2 separate regions of the Homo sapiens genome follow, and region 2 is linked to region 1. The links are contacts of gene promoters, found by promoter capture Hi-C in human tissues and cell types (Jung and others, 2019). All regions are on one chromosome and are shown on one strand. Each heading gives the region's core, a stretch centred on a gene start or on the middle of the fragment in contact. The rest is flanking DNA. Distances are from core to core; before and after follow the strand shown. Region 1 holds the start of REEP2 (receptor accessory protein 2). Region 2 overlaps CDC23 (cell division cycle 23).

Evidence for each region. Contacts are between HindIII fragments. The study calls those that stand out against the background at their distance.
Region 2: a contact is called between a fragment that was not itself captured here and the fragment with the promoter of REEP2 in region 1, in 2 of the 25 tissues and cell types used here (bladder and spleen).

Annotation. Positions count from the first base shown.
Region 1 is chr5:138,436,704-138,440,855 of GRCh38, forward strand. It overlaps REEP2 (receptor accessory protein 2), which reads left to right and starts at 2,354. Exons shown (of 8, transcript NM_001271803.2): 1 at 2,354-2,537. The coding sequence starts at 2,506. It overlaps KDM3B (lysine demethylase 3B), which reads left to right. Exons shown (of 24, transcript NM_016604.4): 24 at 1-324. RefSeq lists a silencer at 2,182-2,601 and an enhancer at 2,987-3,520. The HindIII fragment of the contact is 10,254 bases long and covers 1,682-4,152 here.
Region 2 is chr5:138,190,410-138,194,561 of GRCh38, forward strand. It overlaps CDC23 (cell division cycle 23), which reads right to left. Exons shown (of 16, transcript NM_004661.4): 10 at 2,095-2,248; 11 at 1,860-1,979; 12 at 1,453-1,528; 13 at 1,065-1,126. Among named protein-coding and RNA genes, the nearest start is that of KIF20A, 13 kb to the left of the region's middle. The HindIII fragment of the contact is 5,036 bases long and covers 1-4,152 here.

The DNA.
Region 1 (4,152 bases), core at 1,104-3,603:
AGGACAGTTGATTTCCAACATGAGGTTTTTTGTTTTTTATCCAGAAATATTTTCAGCAAAACTTTCCAACTGAGTGGAGTCTGATTAAGGATTTATTTGAAAATGGTGGGATTCATTGGCCCATAGGTACATTGGAAAATGTATATCTCTCCAGCTGTACTGTAGTGCCCTGCAGGCTGTTTATATGTTCACAGTTACTTTTTTTTTTTTTTTTAAATAAAAGTCATTTAATGTAGAATACTTTTAATTTCACTTTCTGTATTTTAATTTTGTTGAAGGGCTGATTGGGATTTCCATGTTCTTATTAAAAATCTAACAAATCTGTTTGGAGTGGACTAAATTATTCGTGTACCAACCCTTCTAAAATCAACATCAGATTGGGAGTTGGGTTGGAGGTGGGGGATTCATTTCCAGGTCTTCATGACTGTGCTACACCCAGATATTTTTCTTTGCTTGTTGAGACTGTGCCATGTTAGAAAAAAGGAAAGTGCCAGGGTGAGGTCAGTATGGTTTGGGGAATTGGGGGTAAGGGGAAGGGGCCACATGAATTAGAGGGTAGAAAGAGAGACATGTTTCCCCATACTTTATGCTTTGTGAATGGAGTGGGAAAGTTGGGGTCCTCCCTTCCTGTGGCAGAGTCTGGGGGGAAGGGTCATGGTGTGTGGCCTCAGCAAAGTTGGACAGTCTGTGGTGGGATTCTTAAGCAGGCAGCCTGGCTGCCTACATGAAACGTGTGGCCATAGATCCACCTTAGAGATGGTGGGAGACACTCATGTGGGATTTATCAAGCAGTAATTAAAGTGTTTCATTGTGGGGTGATAACAGACTGCATTCCAATTAGGAGATGTTTTCTGGAGAGGAAGTTGTAAAGAATAGCAAGAGGGGTTATCAGAGGCTGCTTTTCTGGAACGTTTTGGGAAACATCTTCCAAAGTGTTTGAACCTGGAAATATAATTTACCAGGTTAGAAATAGACCATTGTGTTGTTCAGGGATACTGAGCTTGAATAAGACCATGACTCTTTGAAATACACAGTTCTGAATGTGTCCTTTCAGCCCAGATGGGCACAGGTTGATGCTGTGGTCACCCGAAGGATTACAACTCAACATAAAGGGTAGAGGAATGCAGAAGCTCTAAAATGGGACAGGAAAGGAGAGCAATAGGGCTGGGGGTGTTGGTGGATGGTTGGAGGTTGGTTGCTTTCCTGAAGATCAGGAGGCAGGCTAGCCTACATTCTGGATATAAATGTCTTTAGAATCAGGACATTCACTGCCACTAGTGCTTGCTGATGGGGGTGGAACTGGAGCCCCAGGACCCTCTCGCAGCCCCTCTGTTTGAAAAGAAGGTTGACCCTTTGTTGTCAGTAACCACATTGAGAGCATAAAGCTCTGTTCCGCTGCAAAGCTTAGGAGCTGACAACCTAAAAAAGCAGACCAGCAGCCCGGTGGCTCACACCAGTGATCCCAGCACTTTGGGAGGCTGAGGCGGGTGGATCGCTTGAGCTCAGGAGTTGGAGATCAGCCTGGGCAATATTGCAAAACCCCATCTTGGCAAAAAAAAACAAAAAACAAAAAAACAGGAATTAGCTGGTGGTGTTTTGGGCCTGTAGTCCCAGCTACTCGGGAGGCTGAGGCGGGAGGATCATTCAAGCCCAGGAGGTGTGCTGAGATTGTGCCACTGCACTCCAGCCTGAGCGACAGAGTGAGGACCTGTCTCAAAAAAACAAAACATCATCTGGTCAGGGGAGATCCTCTTTCAACGGGGTGAGAAGGAGTGGGGTGGACAGGTGCGGCTGTACCTGTGACTCAGGAGCTCAGGTGGATGTCTTCAGGGCCTGTAATGAGGAGAGTTTGCTAGTCAGCAGTTGGGGGATGTAACCTGTTTAAAGTAGGCTTCCTGGGGTCATCTTAGCAGCATGACTTGGTGGCTTTGTGACTCTCAACAGATTATTGAGCCTTAAGCTTCTCATTCCCTTATCTTCAAAATGAGGGCTTTTATAGCGCCTGCCTTATAGGGTGGTCAAGAGGATTCACTGGCAACGCAGTGAAGCTCTTAGCACAGGGGCTGGCACACAGTAAGCGCCTGGTGTGGGCAGGGCAGGAGGTGGGCAGGGGTCGATTTCAGGATGTAACCATGGAGACCTCCACGACAACAGCCTAGGGCTTGAAACCCAAGAAAGATGAACAAGCGATTCGAGGAAGGCAGGGCACTGAGGGTCGGAGGCGCATGCCCGGCCACAGCAGGTGCCGGGGCGGGGGCGCGCCGCCGCCGCCGCGGCGGCCTCCCGGCCTCCCCTTTAAGAGCCGCCACCGCCCACGGCCCGCCGCTGCGGCAGGGACCTCCCCTTTAACGGCGGCGCTGGGCGCTCCGCTGCCCCCGCGGCGGCTGCTGCAGCGGCTGCTGCTGCTACTGCGGCTCCTGCTGCCGCCGCCGCCGCCGCTCGGCCTCAGGCAGCTGCATCCTCGGCCGGGCCGGGTCCCCGCCCCGCGCCGCGCCCGGCCCCGCCATGGTGTCCTGGATCATCTCTCGCCTGGTGGTGTGAGTGCGGCGGCGGCGGGGGGTGATGCGGGCTGTGATGGAGGGCGGGGGTGTTAAAGCCCGGGTGGACTTCTCCGAAGCTTCGTGCAGCAGAGTCACCTAAAGGCGCTGCGTCCTTATTTGGGGCCCCCAGAGACATGGAGATGTGGCACCCAGGACTGGAGGGGGGAATATTAGGGGAGCGTGGCAGGCCTGGCTTCCCAGGGACCTCACCCACATTCTTTATTAATAACCTCTTTTATTTCTACCGTCCTTGCTCCTGCGCCCATCCTAGAGGCTGAGCAGCACGGCTTGATTTAAAAGGGGAGGCAGGCGCGTCCCCTCCCCCACCTAGCAGGTCTGGGCTGGAGGAGATCCTCAGACCCGGGCCCTGTCCCTCTGGGGGAGGTAACAGGGTGATGGAAGAGAGTGGAGCAAGGCAGGGCCTCATCATCATTCCGCAGCTCAGAGCCATCACCAGGCCCCTTGGTCTCTCCCTTCCACTCACTGTCAGGAGACTGGGGACGAGGGCATATGCCCTTAGGCCCCCTAGGGAGGAAGTCTGGGTATCGGGAAGCAGAAATGCTCGGAGGACAAAGTGTGAGAGGTAACTGGGAGAGGGGATGTGTGTGCTCAGCCTGGGATTGTGGACCCCGCTGGGGGAGGACGCTCCGTGGCCTTCATTCCAGGCTGCCAGCCACACTGTGGAGCTGTGTCTCTGGCACCTCCCCGGGCCCCAGGAGGGAACACACACCATTCCCCACGAGCCCAGACTTTGTCCTTGAGGATTCTGCTCCGCACTCCACTTGCACCAGCCGGTTTGGAAGTATCCCTCCTGTCCATGTGGAAACAGGCGACAGCCACACATTGTCAAGGGGCTGAGCCTGACAGGGGCTCCTCGTGGTTCTCGGAGCTATCCCCTGCCCTAATGAGGACACTGCCCCTCGGCCTCCACCGTTGGGGACTGACACCGGCAGCCCCACCCTGCTCCCTTCTTCCCATTCGGTACAGCCGGGCCGGCCAAGTGCTTCTGTCCTGGTTTACTCTAGACTCCTTCTCTTCCCCCACCCATCCCAGGGGGAATGGAGGGGCCTCACGCCTCCATGTGGCCTTCAGGGTGGCTGCTTCTCTCTTGCCTGGGCAAGCCCCAAAGGGCATCGGTCCTCTTCTTTCCCGGCCTGTGTCTTGTCTGCATTCTGTACTTGGATCACCAGCGGGGCCCTCCCCTGAGCCCTGTCCCTGTGGTGTTTACATGGGGGAATAAGCCTCTTTGCCTCTCTCAGGGCCTCCTGCCCCTGTGCCCTCTGTTCCCTAGGGCCCCAGGGCCACAGTGGTACCTCTGCCTGCCAGGTAGGGTGCCCTGTTAGGTGGTGTCAGGTTCCCTCGCAGAGCCTGGCTCTGAGGGAGGTGGAGGGTAAGGGCAGATGGGTGTGAATGGGCATGAGGTCAAGAAGGAAGACACCCTGTGGCAGTGACCTGACTCCCAGTCTCCATGACATATTTGTGTGTAACCAAGGATCATGGCGCAAGGGACTACATTGGACCCTCTGGCCTCTGGGCCTTTCCCTGCCTCCGGGGCTAGAGAAAAACTGAACAGTGGAGCGGGGAGGGGGCATCACCCTACCTGGCTGGGCAT
Region 2 (4,152 bases), core at 735-3,234, 250 kb before region 1:
ATCATACCACTACACTCCAGCCTGGGCCACAGAATGAGACTCTGACTCCAAAAAAAGAAAAAAAAAAAAAAAAGCTGGGCACTGTGGCTCACACCTGTAATCCCAGCACTTTGGGAGGCCAAGGCGGGTGGGTCATCAGAGATCAGGAGTTCAAGACCAGCCTGGCCAACATGGCAAAACTCTGTCTCTACTAAAAAATACAAAAATTAGCCAGGTGTGGTGGCAAGCGCCTGTAATGCCAGCTACTCGGGAGACTGAGGCAGGAGAATCATTTGAACCCAGGAGGCAGAGGTTGCACTCTAGCCTCCGTGACAGAGCAAGACTCCGTCTCAAAAAAAAAAGATAACAAGTGGCCAGGCATGGTGGCATAGGGCCATAATCCTAGCTACTCTCTAATCTGGCTGAGACCAATGACTTCAAGACCAACCTGGTCATCACAGCAAGATCCTATCTATAAATTACAAAAAAAAAAAAAAAGATACCAAGCAACTCAATTTTTTTCCTAAGAATCCAGACAGGAACCTCTTTACATTTAAGAACCTCTTTGCCTACTATTTGAGTTATTCCTAATTTTTCTGGCCCTTAGCAGGAAATTAATACTGAAAGTAGTTTGACACAAAAATGTTATCCTTTCTTCAAATCAATCTTGATCTCTTGCTTTAATAGGAAAGCAACGGCCCTCCTTCAAGAGAAGTAGCATTCTCTTTTTATTTTTTTTATTTTGAGATGGAGTTTTGCTCTTGTTGCCCAGGCTGGAGTGCAATGGCGCGATCTCGGCTCACTGCAACCTCCACCTCCCAGGTCTTGAACTCCTGACCTCAGGTCATCCACCTCCCTCAGCCGCCCAAAGTGCTAGAATTACAGGCATGAGCCACTGCACCTGGCCAGAAGTGGCATTCTCTAGGAACAAGATGGCTACATTCACAAACCAGCATTCACACACCCTGCTACATCCCTACACCTATGTAGAATGATGGGTGTATGGGAGGCTCTAGACCATGCAGGACCCACCATCCCAGAGAAGCCAACAGAAATATCAATAGCATTTCACTCCTTTCACTCACTTTGCCAGTTTCACCAGAGCCATTTTCTCCACATCTCCCACGGCGTAAGCTCTCCAATAACACTGTCAAAAAAATAAACTGGTCATTTTGACCATTGTCCCATGTGTCACAACTAAATCATATGAAGGTTAAGACCCTGCAAGCCTCCCAGAAGTTCAGATTTATAGAATGCAAGACATTTTTACTAGTTCTGATAGGTCTAGGCTACACACTGACATTCCCACTGATGACCTTGGCCCAGCTTTGCTTTCAGACTATGTATCTATAAATATTCAGACTTTCCTATGCACCTAGATCAGAATAAGGGAAAAATTAGAGCACAGATAGCCCAACCTTCATCTAAACAGCAGATTTCCACTCAAATTCTTCAGGACCCAATTTAAGGTACCTTTTTGGCTTCCACTAGTTGATTGAGTTTCTCGTAACATTCTCCTAAAGCAACCAGCATGCGAGAATCATTGGGTCTGAGAAAGAAGAACAGGCAGTCTGAGCAAAGACTTTACAGAAACTGAAGTTCTCTTTTGAGGAACCAGTACACCACTATTTCAAATCTATGCAACAACTGGTCTTTAACCTGATGCTCCATATAATAGATTACTTTGTGTTCATAATTATACTATTAACCCATTAGTGAAATATACTAAATGAAAATAACCAAACAGCCTTCAGCAACTTTAACCTCAGATCCCCAAGAGCCAAAACCATCCACTGTGATTTGTCAATAGCTATCAAAAGAGGAAAAAAAAGTTATTAGCCCTTCCCATATCAGACGCATTGTCAAGTGACCAGGCTTACCGAAGCTGGTGGGCCCGTCTATAATAATAAAGGCAGTAAAATGGCATCTTAAGGATTTCATAGGTCTGCCCGAGGCCATACCAAGCTCTGTAGTCCCGTTTGTTGACCTCAATGGCATGTCTAAGAAATGGAAAAGACAGGTTGTTAAGAAGGCAGAATCAAGGTTGGCAACTTGCAGGCTTAGAGGCTCCTAACCACAGCAATCTGCTCTACCTCACCACCTATAGATAATCACCTATAAGCCTGGATAGCAGCAGACGTGTTCTTCATCTCCATGTACTCATGTCCCATTAGTGTCCAGGCACCAAGATACCGAGGATTTAATTTCAGGGCTCTCTGGAAATATAAGGCTGCTTTCTCATGCTGAGAACGTAAACTGTAATAATTGCCTGATTAAAAATCAAACAAAAAAATGAATAATCAGAAAGGTAAAAATAAAAGTCCATTAAAATAGATAGCATTCCACCAAATGGGCGTGAAACCATAACCCATTCCCTCTAAAGTCCTGGCAAAACACCCAAATTGTACAAAAGGGAAATATTCCCTTGGGAAATATATTTCATCTGTCACACATTCCGGTTAAAAAAAAAAGTATTCTTAAACACTGCAAGTTTTTATTCCTTTTAATATCACCTGGATACAGCATTTATATACACAGTCTCTTTCTTTCTTTTTTTCTGAGACAAAGTCTTGCTTTGTCACACAGGCTGGAAAGCAGTAGTGTAATCACAGCTCACTGCAGCCTCAACCTCCTGAGCTCAAGCAATCCTCCCACATAAGGCTTTCAAGTAGCTGGGAGCACAGGCACATGCCACCAAGCCGGGGTAATTTTTAAATTTTTTTGTGGAGACAGTCTCCCTATGTTGCCAGGGTGGTCACAAACTCCTGAGCTCAAGCGATCTTCCTGCCTCAGCCTCCCAAAGTGCTGGAATCAAAGGCATGAGCCACCACATCTGGCCTATATATACATTTTCTTAGATTATGCTTTACATCGGTGGTTTTCAAACTATATTCCTTGGAGCCTAGGTTTCTAAAGAGGTACCCAGGCTGGGCATGGTGACTCACGCCTGTAATCCCAGCACTTTGGGAGGCCAAGGTGGACAGATCACCTGAGGTCAGAAGTTTCAGACCAGCCTGGCCAACATGGCAAAACCCTGTCTCTACTAAAAATACAAAAATTAGCCGGGCATAGTGGCGCACATCTGTAGTCCCAGCTACTCAGGAAGCTGAGGCAGGAGAATCGCTTGAACCTGGGAGGCAGAGGTTGCAATGAGCTGAGATCGTGCCACTGCACTCCAGCTTGGGTAATAGAGCAAAACAACATCTTAAAAAAAAAGGAAAAAAAGAGGTATGATTCTGTCTCAAAAAAAAAAAACAGGTACCTCAAGGGTTAAAAAGGTAGCATTCTGACCAGGAGTGGTGGATCACGCCTGTAATCCCACCACTTTGGGAGGCTAAGGCGGGCGGATCACCTGAGGTCAGGAGTTCGAGACCAGTCTGACCAATAGGAAGAAACTCGGTCTCTACTAAAAATACAAAATTAGCTGGGCATGGTGGCACATGCCTGTAATCCCAGCTCCTCAGGAGGCTAAGGCAGGAGAATCGCTTGAACCCAGGAGGCAGAGGTTGCGGTGAGCCAAGATCGCGCCATTGCACTCCAGCCTGGGCAACAAAAGCAAAACTCCGTCTCCAAAAAAAAAAAAAAGGTAGCGCTCTAAGTTTCCGTCTCACACAAGAATCAAAGCAGTTCTATTCTCATTGGTCTTAAAAAGTGGAAGTGAAAGATTTCAGCTGAAGAAAGTATAAGAGCCATCTGTCTTATATCAACTGGTGAATAAACAAAATGTGGCATATCCAAACATGGAATACTACTCAGCAATAAAAGGAACTACTGATACATGCTACAATATGGATGAACCTCAAAAGCATGCTAATGGATGGGAGGCTGAGGTGGGAGGATCACTTAAGGTCAGGAGTTCGAGACCAGCATGGGCAACATAGTGAGACCCTGTCTCTAAAAATAAAAAGTATCCAGGTGTGGTGATATATGCCTGTAGTCCCAGCTACTCCAGAGGCTGAGGCAGGAGAAAGCTTGAGCCCAGGAATTCACGCCACTGCACTCCAGCCTGGTGACAGAGAGAGACCGTGTCTCAAAAAAAAGCTAACTGAAAGAAGCCAGACAATAAGACTAAATATTGCAAGAATCTATTTATATGAAATTCCTGGAACAGGCAAAACTATAAAGAAGCAAAGCAGTGGTTGCTGGGGGATGGGAATGGGACTGACTGCAAAT